Linked DNA regions of Homo sapiens: all the other regions are linked to region 1. The links are contacts of gene promoters, found by promoter capture Hi-C in blood cells and fetal thymus (Javierre and others, 2016). All regions are on one chromosome and are shown on one strand. Each heading gives the region's core, a stretch centred on a gene start or on the middle of the fragment in contact. The rest is flanking DNA. Distances are from core to core; before and after follow the strand shown.

Region 1 (2,563 bases), core at 36-2,535:
ACCCTCTCCTAACACTCCCGCTCTTATGCTTCAGCGGCACTGCCCTTTTTTCTTTTTCTGCTAACTCATCAAACTCATGGCTGCCTCCGGCCTTAGCACTTGCTATTCTCTCTGCTTGGAATACTCATTCCCCAGATGTCCACGTGACTTACTGCTTCTTGTCATTTAGATCTCAACTCTAATTGTCCCCTGACTTCTATCAGTAGTGCTCCATCACACCATCTTACTTTTCCTAAGGCTTACCACTATCTGAAAATAGCCTGCGTTTCTCTATTTTCCCCTCAGTAAGAATTAAAAGTTCATACTAGGGCCCATTTCCTAGCAGTGTTTGGCACATAGTAAGTATGCTGAAAAAAAAAAACCTTGACTGACTGAATAAATGAACAAATAAACTCACTTTTAATGAGATATCAAGGTTTTATATTAATTACATGAGCCAAGAATTGTGGTTTCATTTTTAAAATGTGAGGACCTACTGGTTTAATCCTTCATACTTCACACATATGCTTGTGCTGGAACTATGACTGTAAATCAATAGCAATACCATCCTCTGTTTTGGCTTCTTCCCCTAACCTAAATAGTTCTCAGATTTACTTTTCTCTCCATCTCCACTGCCACACTGTCACCTTAGTGCAAATGACCATCCTCTCTGGCCTTTTTTCTGTAAGGTTTTAATCTCCCAATATGTATTCTCCAGACTGCAGGCCAGTGAGCTTTTCAGTTGCTGTTACACCCATGCTTGAAAACCCTTTAAGTTTTCATTGTTCTCAAGATAAAGACCAGAATGTGGTCTGGTCCACCACCTCACGTCAGGCCAGCCCTCACTCTCCACTCCAGGCCACACTTTCTCCTCCCCTCCTGGTTCCCGCCTGCCAACTGGCTGGGTAGCCGTTGCTTCCCGCTTCCTGCAAAGTTCTACATCGCACCCATTTCGCCCACTTCTTCAGATTTCAGGAGATTGTTCCTTCCTCGAGGAAGCCCTCCCTGATTAGGCCAAGCGCCACTCCACGTCATACAGCCCCACATCACCATGGGCCTCTCTTTCAGGGCTTTGTTTTATGAGTATGCAATCCAGAATATGACAATCTTATTGACATGCGTCAACGCGAGCTTGCGCTCAATAGCTATTTGCCGAAGGAATATACGGACTAGCGGCCCGACCACTCCTCGCCCCTCCCCTACCACTGCCGCGCACATATTACGCATTAAGCAGGCGCCGCGAGTACGGACATCGCGAGCGCCTGCGCGAAGGGCTACGCATGCGCAGAGGGGCCAGCCCGCTGACAGATTCTCGGTGGCGGCGGCAGCGGCGGCGGCCCTGGACTGCGGGGAATGGGAATCCTAGGTCCCTGACTGAGCACCTCCCCCGCCTCCCTGCCCCCGACATGGCTCAGGAGAAGATGGAGCTAGACCTGGAGCTGCCTCCGGGTACGGGCGGGAGCCCGGCGGAGGGCGGTGGCAGCGGCGGCGGCGGGGGCCTCAGGAGGTCTAACAGCGCCCCCCTGATCCACGGCCTCAGTGACACTTCGCCGGTGTTCCAGGCCGAGGCGCCGAGCGCCAGGCGGAACAGCACAACGTTCCCGAGCCGCCACGGCCTGCTGCTGCCGGCCTCCCCTGTCCGCATGCACAGCAGCCGCTTGCACCAGATCAAACAAGAAGAGGGCATGGACTTGATCAACCGAGAGACGGTCCACGAACGGGAGGTGCAGACCGCAATGCAGATAAGCCACTCCTGGGAGGAAAGTTTCAGCCTGAGTGACAACGACGTGGAGAAATCCGCCTCCCCCAAGCGCATCGATTTCATTCCTGTGTCACCAGCACCGTCACCCACTCGGGGAATTGGGAAGCAGTGTTTTTCGCCATCCTTGCAAAGTTTTGTAAGTAGCAACGGATTGCCTCCAAGCCCTATTCCCAGCCCAACGACCCGATTTACCACCCGGAGAAGCCAGAGCCCCATCAATTGCATTAGACCAAGTGTTCTTGGACCATTGAAAAGAAAATGTGAAATGGAAACTGAATATCAGCCAAAGAGATTTTTCCAGGGCATCACCAACATGCTTTCTTCTGACGTTGCACAGCTGTCAGATCCTGGTGTGTGTGTATCTTCGGATACCCTTGATGGAAACAGCAGCAGTGCCGGATCTTCTTGTAACTCACCAGCGAAAGTCAGCACTACCACCGACTCTCCTGTGTCACCTGCCCAAGCGGCTTCTCCATTTATTCCACTAGATGAACTTTCGTCTAAGTGATTCACTCATCCTGAGACTTTCTTTTTGCAGTGGAGAGAGAGAATAATCTAGTTGGGGCAAACACTGAACTTTGTCAATTAATTTGAGGCTATTTCCTATTTGACCCCTTTTCTTTTTTGAAATTCCCTGAAATGATGTTATTCTAGAGAACTTCTATGTCAGGTTCCTTTGGATACCCTTGAATTCAGTGTAGTAATATTTTCAGACGTTTCCCCAATAAGTGTGTTGAAGCATACATCTTTACGCTGCTAATATGTCTAAATACATATGTTATCCCTTGATTTTTTTAAATAACTGAGAGCTCTATTTATTTA
Region 2 (2,563 bases), core at 43-2,542, 250 kb before region 1:
GGCGCAGTGGCTCGTGCCTGTAATCCCATCACTTTGGGAGGCCGAGGCAGGCGGATCACGAGGTCAGGAGTTTGAGACCAGTCTGGCCAACATAGTGAAACTCTGTCTCTACTAAAAATACAAAAAATTAACTGAGTGTGGTGGTGTGTGCCTGTAATCCCAGCTACTCAGGAGGCTGAGGCAGGAGAATTGCGTGAACTCGGGAGACGGCAGTGAGCCGAGATCATGCCATTGCACTCCAGCCAAGGTGACAATGTGAGACTCCGTCTCAAAAAAAAAAAAAAAAAAAAAAAACAGGAAATGACTTTAAAGGCCCCAAATTTCATGGGAACTGCAAGAGTCAATCAGAGGAAACTATGGATAGAGTGTGGCAACTTCCAGGGCAACTCTGGTGATCTGCTGTTACAGAGGGGTTCACTCATTACAGCACGTGTCTGCAGAAAAATGGCAAGCAACACTATACATCACATGCTGGTTTTCAACCAGGGCGGGTATTTGGAAATGTGTGTGTATTTGCCAGAGAGGCATTTAGTGGCAGTAGTAGGAAACCAAACACGCTAAATATCCTTCCAGGTGTCAGCCAGTCCCCCAGAACAAAAATTTGTTTTGTGTCACCCAGGAATCTTGAGTTTATTCAATGTCCTTGAAAATGGATAGGCAGTCATTATTAAAATGAGATCGTTTGTCAACTTTTACTGATCTAAGTGCAGCATACATCCGCAGTATTTGCGGGACAAATCGTGTTGCATGACGTTATAGGTGGAAGGGCTTGCACGTGGCATGCAGGCTTTCTGCACAGGAAGTCGAAGCTTGATGCACGGTCTCATGGATCAGTGTAAGGCATGGGATTTACTTTGACGTTCAGATGGGTGTAGGGAATTTGAAAAGCACCTGCAGGAGCTGGTAATGACATAACTGTGTGACTCCATTCCATTGCTGGATCATGCACTGGATACTCTCAAAACATGTGGACACTGAAATCCCAGACACATGTCTTAAGGAGCTTCCCATCCCTGAGTGTAGAAGGGTCTGAGAAACGGTGTGCCTTTGGAAATAACGTAACTGCCAGTAAATCAGCCTTTGGCCCTTTGACAGTTACAAACAGCAAGAGATTATCCGAAGCAGCAGAGCTTAGCAGAATGCCTGTTCCACTCCAACCAGCTGGAGTCCTTACTAGAAGAAATAGCTCATGCAGCTGACAGCCCACTTGGTATGTGAGTCAGCCTAGGTTGTCATGGAACCTTGTAGAATTTGGAGAAGATATAGATTATAAGTCCATGTCTTTATCATCTTTCCATGCCTATCTGCACCTAATATGTGCCCTACAATGTAGGTGAGCTAGAGCAATGCCTCACCAAAGACAGTATATTTAAATAGAATCTTAAATGATAGACAGGAGTGTCAGTAAAAGCACTGGTAAGATTTTGCATGGAGGGTCGAAAATGAACACAGTACATCTCAGATATGCAAAAGACACAGTATAACTTAATCTATAATTGAGGATAACTGACCTTATCCTCACCTTCTGGAGTGGTGGTAAGGCCTACTCAAACTTTCTGCTCAAAGGGACATTATGAGATTACAATACTGGAGGGCCTTCAACCCTGAGAACTTCCCTTCCCCATTGACATATGAACCTACCATCCACAGGTGAGAGAAGAGAATGAGCAAAGACTCTTTGTAGTGGGGATTTTTCTCTTTTCACTTTCTTATGCTGCATGTGCTCTCCCTGTCATTCATGGAATTGCTGTTTCCAATCCTTGACCGTAAATTTTATAAGCTTCAGAAGGAAGAGCAGAGGCAGTATCTATTTATCTTGAGTGAATCCTCTAGGGGATGACTACTATATTATTATTATGAACCACAATCGGATATTTTTGTCTGATTTGTCCAGTGGATTTTAATTGCTGGGTCTCTCGAATGTAGAATTTGCTTTGTGTCCTACCCTTGTTCTCGACACATGATTCAGAGTACATATGCAGTCGCTGGAAACTGCTCTGATTCACATTGCCAAGATATTATTTCTGCCTTACATGAAATGTTAAAAAAATGAACAAATAACTACTGGTATTTTATTTTCAAAAAGACACACCCAAGTTATTTTCCAAATCAGCAGTTAGAGTTCAATAATGTTTGGGTTTGCAGAAAGATCAACTCATTCTGACACTGTGTTAGTTTAACCAGAGAATAATACTTTGACTTATGGTCTTTTATTGATTTTTTTTTCTGATGCAAAAAAAAAATGGCAAAAGAGAAATTTAAGTACAAAATTTATTGCGGTAAAGAGATTAAAACTATTTCTTATGTAAACCAAAATCAACATTTGTTTCACTTGACTACCAGTAGTTGGAAAAACTATCTATTACAAATGCAAATTCTGGACAAAAGACCAATGATGGTCCTTGTTCAAGTCAGTAAATGTGCTCAGACCACCAGGGAGAATTTCAGGATAACTGTCTTAGTAGAGAGATAGAAAGAGATGACAAGAGGAATAATAAATTACATTACTAATAAATGATCACTTCCCTATTGGACAACCATGAGTGACCTTCATATCTTTATG
Region 3 (2,563 bases), core at 29-2,528, 240 kb after region 1:
TAAAAGTAAAATAGTGCTTATGCCATGTCTCCAGCAGAGCAAGAAAGAAAAAGGCAGCCCAGGAAGGCTAAGTGTTCCATAGGGCACTCATTTCTGGCACCTGCCTGGCCCCTGCAGCATTTGGGTGCATGCCCTTGATTTAAATCGATTAATGTTTTCCCAGAAGGAGCCCCAAAATGCTTTATAGCCTATAGAACAAAGAGCTGAGAAGTGAGAGGTCCCAATTCAATTATCTTAATAATTAGAGAGCTCTTGAAGACAAAAGAAAGCTATACAAATACAGCAAGGAAAAGGGGGTATCCAGTGACCAGTTCCATAATTCAGGAAATGCAGGAGATTTGAAGAGTTTGTATGCATTATAAGGGACAAAGAGGGCTGGAGCTGAACCTGAACTGTGAGGGATGGAAGTGCCTAACCTGGAGTTAAAAAAGAATAAGAAGATTGCAACCCTAGGGGTAAACTGCAGACCTTTCAGAACTGCAGAACCCCAGGAGCTAGGGCCCAATGCATCCAAGCTTGAGTCTGTTTGAGAATCTCCCTTTTTCAGCCTCTCCAACACTGTACTAGATGAGGACATCTGGCCTCTGGGTCTGTACATACTGTCCCCTCTGCTATGCTCTTTCCTCCTTGCCCTCTTTCACCTGGCCAACTCTTCATCTCTCTGATCTCAGAAACTCATGCTGTCACCACCCCCACCAAGTCAAGACCAGGCCACTCTCATATGCTCCTGTAGTATCCTATAATTACCCCATCTAGCACTTATGTGACTTTGTAAATACTTTTACGTTATCATCTCTCTCCGCAAGACTGTGAGCTCCATGAGAACATGTTGATTATCAATCTTTGTTACCACTATATCATCAGCAACCACAGTGCCTGGAACTGTGGACGCTCAACAAACAATGATGGATGGATGCCGGGCGCGGTGGTGGCTCATGCCTGTAATTCCAGCACTTTGGGAGGCTGAGGCGGGCAGATCATGAGGTCAAGAGATCGAGACCATCCTGGCCAACATGGTGAAACCCCATCTCTACTAAAAATACAAAAATTAGCCGGGCGTGGTGGTGCACGTCTGTAGTCCCAGCTACTGCGGAGGCTAAGGCAGGAGAATTGCTTGAATCCAGGAGGTGGAGGTTGCAGTGAGCCAAGATCGCGCCACTGCACTCCAGCCTGGAAACAGAGCAAGACTCCGTCTCACAACAACAACAACAACAACAAAAACAATGATGGATGGGTTTGTAAACCAAAACTAAAATTCAAAGCCCCCCAACTGACTAAATGGACCCCCCTCTTAGCCAAGGGGAGTCCAAAGAAACCTGCAAAACTAGTTCAGGCCACTCCAGGAAGGGGTAGGGGTCAGACATGCCTCATTATACCCTCTCCCTTTTGTAGTTTGTAACCGCCCAATGGGATCACCTTGCCCAATGCCTAGACAGAGCCGATTTATCAAGACAGGGGAATCGCAATAGAGAAAGAGTAATTCACACAGAGCCAGATGTATGGGAGACTAGAGTTTTATTAGTACTCAAATCAGTCTCCCTAAGAATCGGGGATCAGAGTATTTAAGGATAATTTGGTGGGCACAGGCCAGTGAGTCGGGAGTGCTGATTGGTCAGGTCAGAGATGAAATCAGGGAATCAAAGGTGTCCTCTTGTGCGGAGTCAGTTCCTGCTGGGGGGTACACAAGATCAGATGAGCCAGTTGATTGGTCTGGGTGGTGCCAGCTGATCCACTGAGTGCAGGGTCTGCAAAATATCTCAAGCCCTGATCTTAGATTTTACAATAGTGATGTTATCCCCAGGAGCAATTTGGGGAGGTTCAGAATCTGGCCGCCTTCAGTTGCATGACTCCTAAACCATAATTTCTAATCTTGTGGCTAATGTGTTGGTTCTGTAAAGGCAGTCTAGTCCCCAGGCAGGAAGGGGGTTTGTTTTGGGAAAGGGCTGTTATCGTCCTTGTTTCAAAGTTAAACTATAAACTAAGTTCCTCCCAAAGTTAGTTCCAGAATATGTTTCCTTGCTATATTTTGAAATGGCCCTGCAAAGCTTTCTTTTGTGGGGGAGAATTTACATCTGTAAAAAAATCTTTTTTTTTTTTTTTTGAGACAGAGTCTCACTTTGTCGCCCAGGTTGGAGTGCAGTGGCGCAATCTCGGCTCACTGCAACCTCTGCCTCCCAGGTTCAAGCGCTTCTCCTGCCTCAGCCTCCCGAGTAGGTGGGACTACAGGTGCATGCCACCACGCCCGGCTAATTTTTTTTTCTTTTTTGTATTTTTAGTAGAGGCGGGTTTTCACCCTGTTAGCCAGGATGGTCTTGATCTCCTGACCTTGTGATCCACCTTCCTCGGCCTCCCAAAGTGCTGGGATTACAGGCATGAGCCACTGTGCCCGGCCCAAAAATCTCTTTTAACATAAGTGGATCTTTCCTTTTCCAGGCCCTCCAAATCCCTGAAGAGATTAACTGAGAGTCTAATACCTACCTTTTAAAGGTCTGCATAGGAAATATTTGCATCTATAATCTCTAAGCTACCTATGAGACTTGATCTATACAATAAGAACCTTGGT
Region 4 (2,563 bases), core at 47-2,546, 230 kb before region 1:
AATGCCTAGCCCAAGAAGAAGCTGAATAATTCATGACCAATATTTTTTTCTCTGAATGAGACTTAGACATAAATTATTGTACCTTCATATACATATATAATGTTCATTATCTTTTTAAAAATCAATAGGGGCCCACATTTTTTAGTTTTTGAAAAATGGGTAGAAGAAGGAAGGAGGGAGAAAATTGCTGCTGATCTATAGGAAAGAATAGCAGGGTATATCTTGGTTTAAACTGAACTATGTACAGTTTCTCGTGTTTTTCACTTTTCACATGGTCCAATATGAAAAATACACCTAAAACAATCATAATAATTATGTACCAAGTACCAACATGTACCAGGCAATTTTACTTTTGCTATCTTTAATTATCACAACAATATTGCAGTGTAGGTAAGTTCCCTTTAAGACTGAAGGATGCTGAGTCCTAAGAGTATCAGTGACCTCCTCGAGGTCATTTAGAGCCACTTTACAAACCCATCCCTACTGGCTCTATGTCCTACACTCTTCACCTTACATCACAATGTCTCTCTGCACAGCTGATTTTAACATTTGCAATTTTACGTAATACATTTACAATTGATGATAAAATTATTAATTGCTACTTCTAATAGATTTGCAAAATATTTTAGATTCACAGTATTTATCAAACACCTGTCATTTACAAGTGTATGAATCAGGATGGGCTAGGATTTGCTTTGTAGCAAACAACCTCATATCTCCATGGTTTTAAATGACAAAAATGTATTCCTTGTTCTCTCACAGAGTCCATCATAGGTCAGCTAAATCTTTGCTCTAAGTTGACCTTTTCTTCACTTTAGGATGCAGCTGAGGGAGTAGCTATTTTCCTAAACACAAATAGTCACAATAGCCAAGAGAACAGATGACACTGAAGGGTCTTGCATTGACAATTAAAATTTTGGCCCACAGGTTTCACACATCGCTTTGTTATAACTCATTAGCAATAACTGGTCACATGTCCCCAACCAACCACAGGGGACCAAGAAGTGTAAATCTACTGTAGGCCCAGAAGATTCAAATAGCTAGAAATATTTGGTGGGCACCATTAATTCTACCTCACCAGGAATGTAACTAAGTGCTGGAGGGAACACAAAGAATGAGTTATGCTCTTTGTCCTTTGAAAACTTACCGTGAGCCATGCAAACAAGCAACCACAATGCAAAGCAGGTAAGAGTGCAACTGTAGTAAAAGCACCATGTTCAAGGAAGACAGAGGAAAGAATGATTAATTTAAAATGGTGAGACTCCAGAATCCTTTGCAGAGAATACTACAGATGCATTCCTAAAGTTTAAAGGGTTTTAAAGCATCAAAAGGTATTTTAGGGAGAAAAGTACTTAAACTAAGGGAACTGCATGAAAGGGTCTGGTGAGTTCAAGGCAAAGATGAGTAGACTGATGGGACAGGACCAGCAGGTAAATGAGACTAGGAATGAAACGAGAGACTGAAAAGTCATCTGGGGACAGAGTATAAAAGTCTGAATGCCACACAAGGAAACAGTGCCCTTTATATTGAAATTGCTACATTTTATTAGAGCTAAATCAGAAATGTTCTTGTCTCAAATTGATTAATGTTTCCATCTTGACACATTTATGTTTTTTTAGAAGAATATATTCTCATGTTAAGTAGAGTAAAATAACAAGATTGTCAGAACAGAGTATCTGGTACATAACAGGTAATCAATAAATATGAATGAATGTATGGGTAGGAAGAAAGTCAAGGAAGGCATTATATATTAATCCTTTCATAATTTATCAAATTCTGAGTATGCACAACTGATTTTTTTAAATAAAGAAAGAGCATATATTACTGAAGAGAACTGGTTGGGTGATGCCTCAGTAAAATGTTATCTAATTCTACATGTTTAATTACTTCTCTTTCTTCCTTTCTTGAGCCTCAGGTATGTGAATGATTTTAACATTCCCTCTTAGGTTTGGTCCTCCCATTCTTTAAGCAAATTTGTTCTTCTCTGAAAATTTCCTAGGCTCTCTGTTTGTCTCTTTAAGCCTCAGAGCCTCAAACACTGGAGAGAACTTGCTGCATGCGAGCTTATTCTAATACTTAATATTTTCTGGGGCCTCAGGGTGAGGGTTGCCTCACAGTCCCTGTGTATAGAAGTTCTAATCTAGAGCATGCAATCTTGTGCACTAAGTAAAAGCAGCTATACTAAAAAATAAAAAAAAAAAATTAAAAACAAGCCAACAAAACCCCAAACCCCACCTAGAGTTGTTAAATACAGAACTTTTCAGCAGCCAAGTGACCCTGTCAGCCCTTAGCTAGAATTTCATGCCTCCCAGGAACAGGGTAATTGAAAGGAACAATGCTGATGGCTTGGGCTAGTCACAGCTGGAAGGTTGCTGCCTTTACACTAAGACTCTGTTCTGCCTCCTTCTGTGGAAAATGAAAGAGGACTTGTTAATGGAGCAAAACCTTGCAAAGCATGTGTGGTGCTGTGGGATTTGTGATGGAAGTACAAGTGGGAGAAGGAATGGACAAACAGCAGGGTGACCTGAGTCAACATAGCAGACACCATGGGCCCCCTTGCCAT
Region 5 (2,563 bases), core at 35-2,534, 200 kb after region 1:
GCAAAGGTCAAAACTGGTTTTTGAATGGCAGAAAATCAGCTCTACAGCCCTCAGCTGACTACCCACCTCCAGCCTTTAAAAGAGGTTATTGAGGCCAAGAAAAGAGTGGCAGTTAGAATGTGATCTTTAGAGAGAACTGTTGATCAGAGGTGTCTGTCCCCACCCAGGGACACTTGGGAGGGCTTGATAAGTGTCCTGTGGAGGATGTGGCTCATGCCTGAGATCCTATGATGGCAGAGCAAGGAGAGTTTGCTGTTTGGAGTTGGCTTCTGCTACTCACTTCCTATCTTTTTTCTGTGTGTGTGTTTTTTTTTTCTCCTTAGCACTTTTGACCAACATAATACATATTTTAAATACTTATCTCATTGTCTGTCTTCTTTAATACTATGTAAGTTCCATCAGGCACAGACTTTTAAAATTTGATCTCTGTATTCTAGGTGCTAGAATCCATTCTAGGTGCAGTGTGCATACATGGATACTCAATAACTATTTGCAGCTGGGAGCAGTAGTAGCTCATGCCTGTAATGGCAGTGCATTACAGGCCTGTGTGGCTTGTTGCAAATTGTGTGCAATTAGCCCTCAGACAGTCTGAATCGAGAGAACTGTGGCAAAACTTAATGGTGCAGCACATCGGCAGGCAGCCAGACTCTTAAACTCTTGGCCTTTGGGATGATAACTTGAGCCCAGGAGTTTGACACCAGCCTTGGCAATATAGGGAGACCTCATCTCTACCAAAAAAATTTTAAAAAGAAACACCAGGCATGGTGGCACATGCCTTTAGTCCCAGCTACTTGGGGGCTGAGGCAGGAGGATCATTTGAGCTCAGGAGTCCAAGGCTGCAGCAAGCCAAGATTGCAACACTGCACTCCAGCCTGGATGACAGAGCAATACCCTGTCTCTAAAAAATACAAATTAAATAACTAAATATTTGCATCCTACATTCATTACCACAAATCACTCCAACAACCCTACTCGTTCTGTATTATTATTCTCATTTTACATATGGGAAACTGGAGCTCTTACTCAGAAGGGTTAAGAAACTTACCCAGTATCACATACAACTAAGTCCAAGAGCCAGAATTGAAAGTCAGATTCATCTGATTCCAAAGCTTATGCTCTGCCTGTTAATGCTTTCTCAGCTCAGGTGCCTGTTTCCTGAAAATGTATTCTCATCCTTTTTTGGGTGCTAGGTAGTATCTAATCTAAGATTTTTAGGCAAGTAACATGCCATTCTGTGCTGTGGTCTCACTTGGTAGATCCTGCATAATGAGGATAACAAATAGAAAGATTAATTAATTGGTTATGTAGCTTACACTCAATACCAAGACAATAATAATTTCAGATTATTCAGAATACATTTAATGGTACTTTACTGTATAAATGCCTGATTATTCATTTAGGGCTGTATATTCTCCCAAATTCTTTTATATGTATAATTTGGTTTAAATATTAAATTGTTGGAAGCTTAAGTAGCATTATTTTCATTGTTCAATCTTAATATCCATTGTTTTAAATATGTTGTTTTAGAAAGCATATTTTGCTTACTTTTCCTCAAAACTTTCTGTTCATTGTTACTCTTCCCAAAAGAACAAAGATCTCCACAGCTAACACCAAACATCATATACCATATTTGTTTTTGTGGGTATTCTGTAATTATTTTCAAGCTCCTAGGCACATTTGCGTACACTACTTTTGTTTCTGCAATGACAAATTTCTAAAATGTTAGCAGCAATGACTGTAAAAAAGGGTAGTTAATTGGAAAAGAGTTCAGATCCTAACTCTGTTTAGGGACCATGTAACCCAGGCAAGCCGCTGCACCTCCCTGGGCCTCATCCTGGAAGTAGAGATGTTGGGCAGACACATGGGGAGGGATTGCGTGTATGAGTGTAACAGGCTGGGTGGGATGCTCGAGTGAGGTGGGGACCCTGCAGCAATGCAGAGGACATGCTCGGTCTAAGGAAGGCAGCTGCAATCTCACTGCTACTCAGAAATGTAGGCTTACAGTTGGCCACTCTTCTCATGTCTCAAAAGAAACTGGGTTTTTGTGGGAATTTCCTTTTCCTCAATTTGGCAATAATTCAAACTAAAATCTCTTCTTCTTTTTTTTTTTTTTTGAGACAGAGTCTCACTCTGTCGCCCAGGCTGGAGTGCAATGGTGCGATCTCGGCTCACTGCCACCTCCGTCTTCCGGATTCAAGCAATTCTCCTGCCTCAGCCTCCCAAGTAACTGGGATTACAGGCTCCCACCACCACGCCTGGCTAATTTTTGTATTTTTAGTAGAGACAGGATTTTGCCATGTTGGCCAGGATGGTCTTGAACTCCTGACCTCAGGCGATCCACCTGCCTCGGCCTCCCAAAGTGCTGGGATTACAGGCATGAGCCACCACACCTGGCCAACAGATCTCTTCTTCAAAACAGTTCTTCCAGCCAGACTGGGTTTGTGGGACAGCAGTGTGTAACCTCTGGGCAGGACATCCCCAGGATGGAGGTGCTCTGGCCCATGCCTGCACTATACCAGCATGTGCCCTGGGACATTGCAGATGGCTCCCCAGGCCTCCACGG
Region 6 (2,563 bases), core at 36-2,535, 150 kb after region 1:
ATCCTTCTATCTGCTCATTCTCATATATCATAGAAACAAACCTCCTCAACGATCTGTCTCTCTTCAGTTCCTGGTGTATCTTTTTCCTCCTTCACTGTCACCCTATTGGAGATGAGAGTTGGATGTACTTGCTGTCTCACTTTTTTTATTTCTTGTCACTATTCAGTGTTCTCCAGTGGCTTTTGATCCCACCACTCTACCAAAATGTTCTTTTTGAAGTAATCAACAATCATTGCTCAAGCCATTGAACAACTTTCAGTTTTTTTTGTTTTTGTTTTTGTTTTTGTTTTTTTGAGATGGAGTCTCACTCTGTTGCCCAGGCTGGAGTACAGTGGCACTATCTCAGCTCACTGCAACCTCTGCCTCCCAGGTTCAAGTGATTCTCCTGCCTCAGCCTCCAGAGTAACTGGGACCACAGGCATGCGCCACCACACCCAGCTAATGTTTGTATTTTTAGTAGAGACAGGGTTTTGCCATGTTGGCCAGGCTGGTCTTGAACTCCTGACCTCAAGTGATCCACCCACCTTGGCCTCCCAAAGTGCTGGGATTACAGGTGTGAGCCACCGCACCCAGCCTCTTTCAGTCTTCTTAAAACTCTCCAGCATGTGAGACCACTGATAGCAGTTCTCTGTGAAATAACGCTCTTCGCTTGTCTTTCGTAACTCAGGACTTCCCTGGTTGCCTTCCAGCCTCTCTTCTCCTCCTTGGTATCCTTTGGAAGCTTTTCATCCCTGCTTACTCTTATTGTGGTTGCTCCTCAGGGTCCAGGCTCTGACTCGGTCTCTTCTTATACAGCACTCTGGGTAATTCCCTGTTCTCCCAAGGGTTCAGTTACCATCTGTGTACTTGCAACTTACTCCCCACACTTCTAGCAATTCCCCTTGCCTGTCCACTCCCCAAACTTAAGCATCCACTAGATTCCACAAGCTCAGCATGCCCAAAATTGAATTTAGCCACTTACCACCCCAGAGTCTGCCTCTCTACCTGGGTCCACGTCTTATGGAAGACCACCACAATCCACCCAATTACCCAGCCAGAATGCTGCCATCATCCCTTGACCCCTTCCTTCTGCTTACCACCCACGTGCAGTTACTCAGCAACACCTATCAGTCCTCACTCTGCAGTATCAGGATTGCAGCCCCTTCTCTCACAGTACCTCTCCTGATTCAGCCACTGTGTTTTTTGGTTTGCAGGTTTTATTATTATTTTTTTTTTTGCATAAAGTTGTGGCCCCAAACAGGTCTCTTTGCCTCCCATCATGTACCCATTCAATCCAATTTCCACACACACACACTGCAGCTAGAGGAATCAGTTTAAAATATAAATCTGCTCTTGCTGATTTCTGTTAAAACCCTTCCATGCTAATAATAATAATAATAATAATGCTAAAGGAAATAAACGTCCATGGATTCCCTGGTGCCCAAAGTCCTTAACTTTCACTTAACACATTTCCTGGCACACAGTAGACACTCAATGGTTATTTGATGAATAATGCAATGAATGAATGGAATTTTTATCTAACACCACCATTTCAAAGGGTAATTAAATTATTAGAAAAGTAGACACTTGAGTTAACTTTAAGATGTTCCATCAACCATGGTTAATTTAAAGCCCTTAATGCCTAAAGGCATACTCCCCTCCCACCAAGAAAATAGTACCTGGTCTTCAAGTTTCTTTTTTGAAGTCAGTGTTTTTTAACCTTTTTAAATCCCTTCATCCCACCCACAAGTGAGTCATGCTGCCGGTGTAATAATGTCTACAAAATCCTATAATATTTCCTGGAAATATTAGCCACCATTATGTTGAAACTTCACTGAAATTCTCCATACGAATAATTTGTCTAAAGTACTAAAGCTTAGTTTCCTGAATAGAATATAAGAGTTAAATTAATTTGTTAGAGAAAATTAACTGTTCTAAAACTTCAGAACAATAATGCATTCATGAACAAACACTCGTGCACCTATTATGTATCTAGCACTACACTAAGCACTGATGATATAGAAAGCTTTTTAAATATTGATTAGTTCCTCCCTCAATAATTTAATAGTCTCTTTTGAGCCGGAGATTGAAACATGTGACAGATCTGTAATGAAACAATTGCTAATATTTCTGCATATGCTACTATGGGTACGCGGAGAGAAATAAGAGAAAAAAAGACCAATTCTTCCAAAAGAGAGCTCACAGAGAAAAAGATATTTCAACTAAATCCTGAAAATGTAACCCAGAGTTCATTAAGAAGAGAGACAGGAAGGGCATCTCAAGGAGAAAGAACAGCATGTGCAAAGGCCTAAGGGCAGAATGAACATGGTAGGTTCCAATATGGCAGAAGGGTGAGCTGAAAAGTGAACATGGAGGCAGTCGAGTGGCAGAATGCAAGGCTAGAAATGGACACAGGATACCTACTGCCAGCCATGGTTGAGCCAAAGACAAATCTAGGCGTTTCTGCCACACAAAAGGAAGCAACCAGCCACCCAAACCAGCTCTCAATGTTACCCAGTCAAAAGAGATCCTGAGAATTAAATTTCTGCAAAATCCAAGCTCTTATCTGCTGAGTGAGATCATT
Region 7 (2,563 bases), core at 31-2,530, 140 kb before region 1:
TTTTACACCTCCAGAATTTTGCAAATGCTGTTCCTTATTCCAGAAATGCATTCCTGCTCTCCTCTCTTCTCTTTGCTTCATTCTTTACCCAACTGGGTCCCTGGTATCTGCCAAGTCTTGGCATAAATATTCTTCCCTCATAGAAGCTTTGACTGACCACCCAAAACAAAGGGGCTTTTCTCCACCTACCATTATTCCCGCTCCTTCTATCTATCATGATTCAGAACCATATCTGCATGTTTCACACACATCTCCAGAGGCTGCTCACTGCAGCACTGTGCGTGGAGCACTCAGTACAGTGTTTGGACATTGTCAGAGCTCAAAGATATCTGTTGAATACATAAATGAATACCAAAAAAACTCCACTGCTTTAAAGAAGTTTGTGTGGATACCTTTTATAATTAAAATAACATCTCCCCATCTGTCTTGAAAGTTTAGTTAAACTTGATTAGGATTTAATGAAGAGAAATATTTATATATTGAATGCTACCTGAGGCAAAGAAATAAAATAAAATTCCTCTCTTTATCTCAGAAATCCCTGAACTTAGTCTCTTCTAAAACTAACCTAGATAAAACTCAGTGTGATCATTTATGTCAACAGGGGTGGAGAGACGAAAGCTCTTTGAAAAAGTGAAACTGATATTAAAATGCAAAATTTTAATTCCTAAAAGCATCATTGACCTAAATAATCTAACAAGTTGCTCAGGGAGAAAAAAATAGGAATCAGCTTTGATTTTTCCCCACCCCTTCCAATCTCTCTGCCATCCTTATGAGCTGTACTTCCAAACACAGCTCAGCTTCACCTCTTGCCTCTTCCCCTTTTGCCCAAGATTGTGTCAATCCAAGCTGCTGAATGCGTAATGAAGCTGTCTGTCTAAGAAGCACAGTTACTTGTTTAGTTAGAAATGTAATTTTTGTTTTGGGGTTTTATTTGGGAGGGATTTTTTGCCAAGTGGTAGAATTTGAAAGTGTTTTCCCTATAGGAGGCAGATTCGGAAGTCTGGCCTACGACTCTTTTGGAAGCTGAAACTAATTAAAATATTCATTTTTCGCCTCTGTAGCTAAGACCCGGCAGGGGAGATAGCATTTGTTTTATGAAGGTGTAACTATATCCACTAACCTCTTGTGTGCCACATTCGGCATCTGCCCCAAGGCTGCCACACCTGCTCAAACACCTGCCCAGTATGTGAGTATTTGGTAGAACAGTTTTTAATGGCTTACCTAAGGGCACCTAGGGTCACCCACCTTTACCTGAGGACAATAGAGTCTTGTTCCACATATTTATTACCTATACACTCACCTCTGAGTGAAGTACTTTCCTGGTTTCACCTTCAGTGAGATCTGAAAAGCTATGCAAAAGACAAATAGAAAAAGAGAAAGAGAAAGAGAAGTTAAAAAATAGTTGTGTGTCATTAAAAAAAAAAAAAAAAATCACTGACCGGGCATGGTAGCTCACACCTGCAATGCCAGCACTTTGAGAGGCTGAGGCAGGCAGATCACAAGGTCAAGAGATTGAGACCAGCTTGGCAAACATGGTGAAACTCCATCTCTACTAAAAATACAAAAATTGGCTGGGCGCGGTGGCGCATGCCTGTAATCCCAGCTACTCAGGAGGCTGAGGTAGGAGAGTCGCTTGAACCCAGGAGGCAAAGGTTGTAGTGGACTGAGATCACGCTACTGCACTCCAGCCTGGTGACAGAGTGAGACTCTGTCTCAAAAAAAAAATCACAGAGGTTGAGAAAGATACGAGAATATGTTAAGTGTCCTCCGTGCTTCCAGAGTGTCTACAGAATCCTCAAAGAAGTGTAAAGCCATAAACCAAGACAGAGCCAATTTCAGCATTCACTGTTTTTGAATGGCAAAAACTAATAATGATGCTTCTTCTGAATACTCAGTATGTCCAAGGACAGGCTAGATGTTTTACTTACATTATCACATTACTTCTCCCTACTCTCTACCATAGGAGACAGTATGAATATTTATGAATATTTTGTTATATTTATTTAATATTCATTAAATATTTATGAATGCTTTGCAAATGAGGAAACTGGAGCTCCAAGAAGTCCAGTGACTTGGGAAGTAGTAATGCATGGGCTAAGAGCAGACTTGGAGGTCACATCATCTGTGCTGGGGTCCCAGCTCTGCTATTGACCAGCAGTGTGACTTTAGACAAATTACTTAATCTCACTAAGCCTCTGTTTTGTCACAAAAGGGCAGTGGTAATAGGTAATGACCCACCTTACTTGTGAAGATGCAATGACTTAACACACACCCAATGCCTGGCACATCATCTAACACATCACCTAGCACACAAGACATGCTGAACCAAGGTTTGCTATCATCCTCCTCAAAGATCACACACAGCTAGAGGGTTGAGAGCAAGGCTGCCAACCCTGGTTGTTTTATTCTGCTCATAAAGCTTCTGTATCTTCCACTTGCAAAAACTAAATTCAGAGAAAAATAATTGGAAATAGAAAAGGGTGGTCAAAGAGAACACCAGAACCAGAAGGAGGCGAAGACCAGTTCCTTCTGTATCTGGAACTTGCCCTATATGGGTCCTTTG

Evidence for each region. The method cuts DNA at HindIII sites, captures the fragments that hold promoters and counts their contacts. A CHiCAGO score of 5 or more calls a contact.
Region 2: a fragment that was not itself captured here is called in contact with the fragment with the promoter of PABIR1 in region 1 in 3 of 17 cell types (total B cells, neutrophils and naive B cells); the score reaches 6.5 in total B cells.
Region 3: a contact is called between a fragment that was not itself captured here and the fragment with the promoter of PABIR1 in region 1, in 12 of 17 cell types (megakaryocytes, naive CD4 T cells, erythroblasts and 9 more). The highest score is 15.4, in megakaryocytes.
Region 4: a contact is called between a fragment that was not itself captured here and the fragment with the promoter of PABIR1 in region 1, in 3 of 17 cell types (total B cells, neutrophils and naive B cells). The highest score is 9.1, in total B cells.
Region 5: a fragment that was not itself captured here is called in contact with the fragment with the promoter of PABIR1 in region 1 in 16 of 17 cell types (neutrophils, megakaryocytes, activated CD4 T cells and 13 more); the score reaches 14.1 in neutrophils.
Region 6: a fragment that was not itself captured here is called in contact with the fragment with the promoter of PABIR1 in region 1 in 12 of 17 cell types (naive CD4 T cells, naive B cells, monocytes and 9 more); the score reaches 9.5 in naive CD4 T cells.
Region 7: a fragment that was not itself captured here is called in contact with the fragment with the promoter of PABIR1 in region 1 in 2 of 17 cell types (naive B cells and total B cells); the score reaches 12.8 in naive B cells.

What each region holds. Positions count from the first base shown.
Region 1 is chr9:68,778,780-68,781,342 of GRCh38, forward strand. It overlaps PABIR1 (PP2A Aalpha (PPP2R1A) and B55A (PPP2R2A) interacting phosphatase regulator 1), which reads left to right and starts at 1,286. Exons shown (of 1, transcript NM_138333.5): 1 at 1,286-2,563. The coding sequence starts at 1,386. The coding sequence ends at 2,249. The region is part of intron 2 of PIP5K1B (phosphatidylinositol-4-phosphate 5-kinase type 1 beta); the gene reads left to right. RefSeq lists silencers at 775-1,189, 1,307-1,546 and an enhancer at 1,194-2,022. The HindIII fragment of the contact is 10,001 bases long and covers 1-2,563 here.
Region 2 is chr9:68,532,767-68,535,329 of GRCh38, forward strand. No RefSeq gene overlaps it. Among named protein-coding and RNA genes, the nearest start is that of TMEM252, 6.8 kb to the right of the region's middle. The HindIII fragment of the contact is 971 bases long and covers 808-1,778 here.
Region 3 is chr9:69,020,108-69,022,670 of GRCh38, forward strand. No RefSeq gene overlaps it. Among named protein-coding and RNA genes, the nearest start is that of PRKACG, 7.3 kb to the left of the region's middle. RefSeq lists a cis regulatory region at 459-964. The HindIII fragment of the contact is 1,530 bases long and covers 514-2,043 here.
Region 4 is chr9:68,553,289-68,555,851 of GRCh38, forward strand. All of the region lies in intron 2 of TMEM252-DT (TMEM252 divergent transcript), which reads left to right. Among named protein-coding and RNA genes, the nearest start is that of LINC01506, 8.0 kb to the left of the region's middle. The HindIII fragment of the contact is 2,760 bases long and covers 1-2,563 here.
Region 5 is chr9:68,983,156-68,985,718 of GRCh38, forward strand. The region is part of intron 14 of PIP5K1B (phosphatidylinositol-4-phosphate 5-kinase type 1 beta); the gene reads left to right. Among named protein-coding and RNA genes, the nearest start is that of PRKACG, 30 kb to the right of the region's middle. The HindIII fragment of the contact is 355 bases long and covers 1,108-1,462 here.
Region 6 is chr9:68,929,395-68,931,957 of GRCh38, forward strand. All of the region lies in intron 12 of PIP5K1B (phosphatidylinositol-4-phosphate 5-kinase type 1 beta), which reads left to right. Among named protein-coding and RNA genes, the nearest start is that of PRKACG, 83 kb to the right of the region's middle. The HindIII fragment of the contact is 1,133 bases long and covers 720-1,852 here.
Region 7 is chr9:68,635,983-68,638,545 of GRCh38, forward strand. All of the region lies in intron 4 of TMEM252-DT (TMEM252 divergent transcript), which reads left to right. Among named protein-coding and RNA genes, the nearest start is that of PIP5K1B, 68 kb to the right of the region's middle. The HindIII fragment of the contact is 2,273 bases long and covers 145-2,417 here.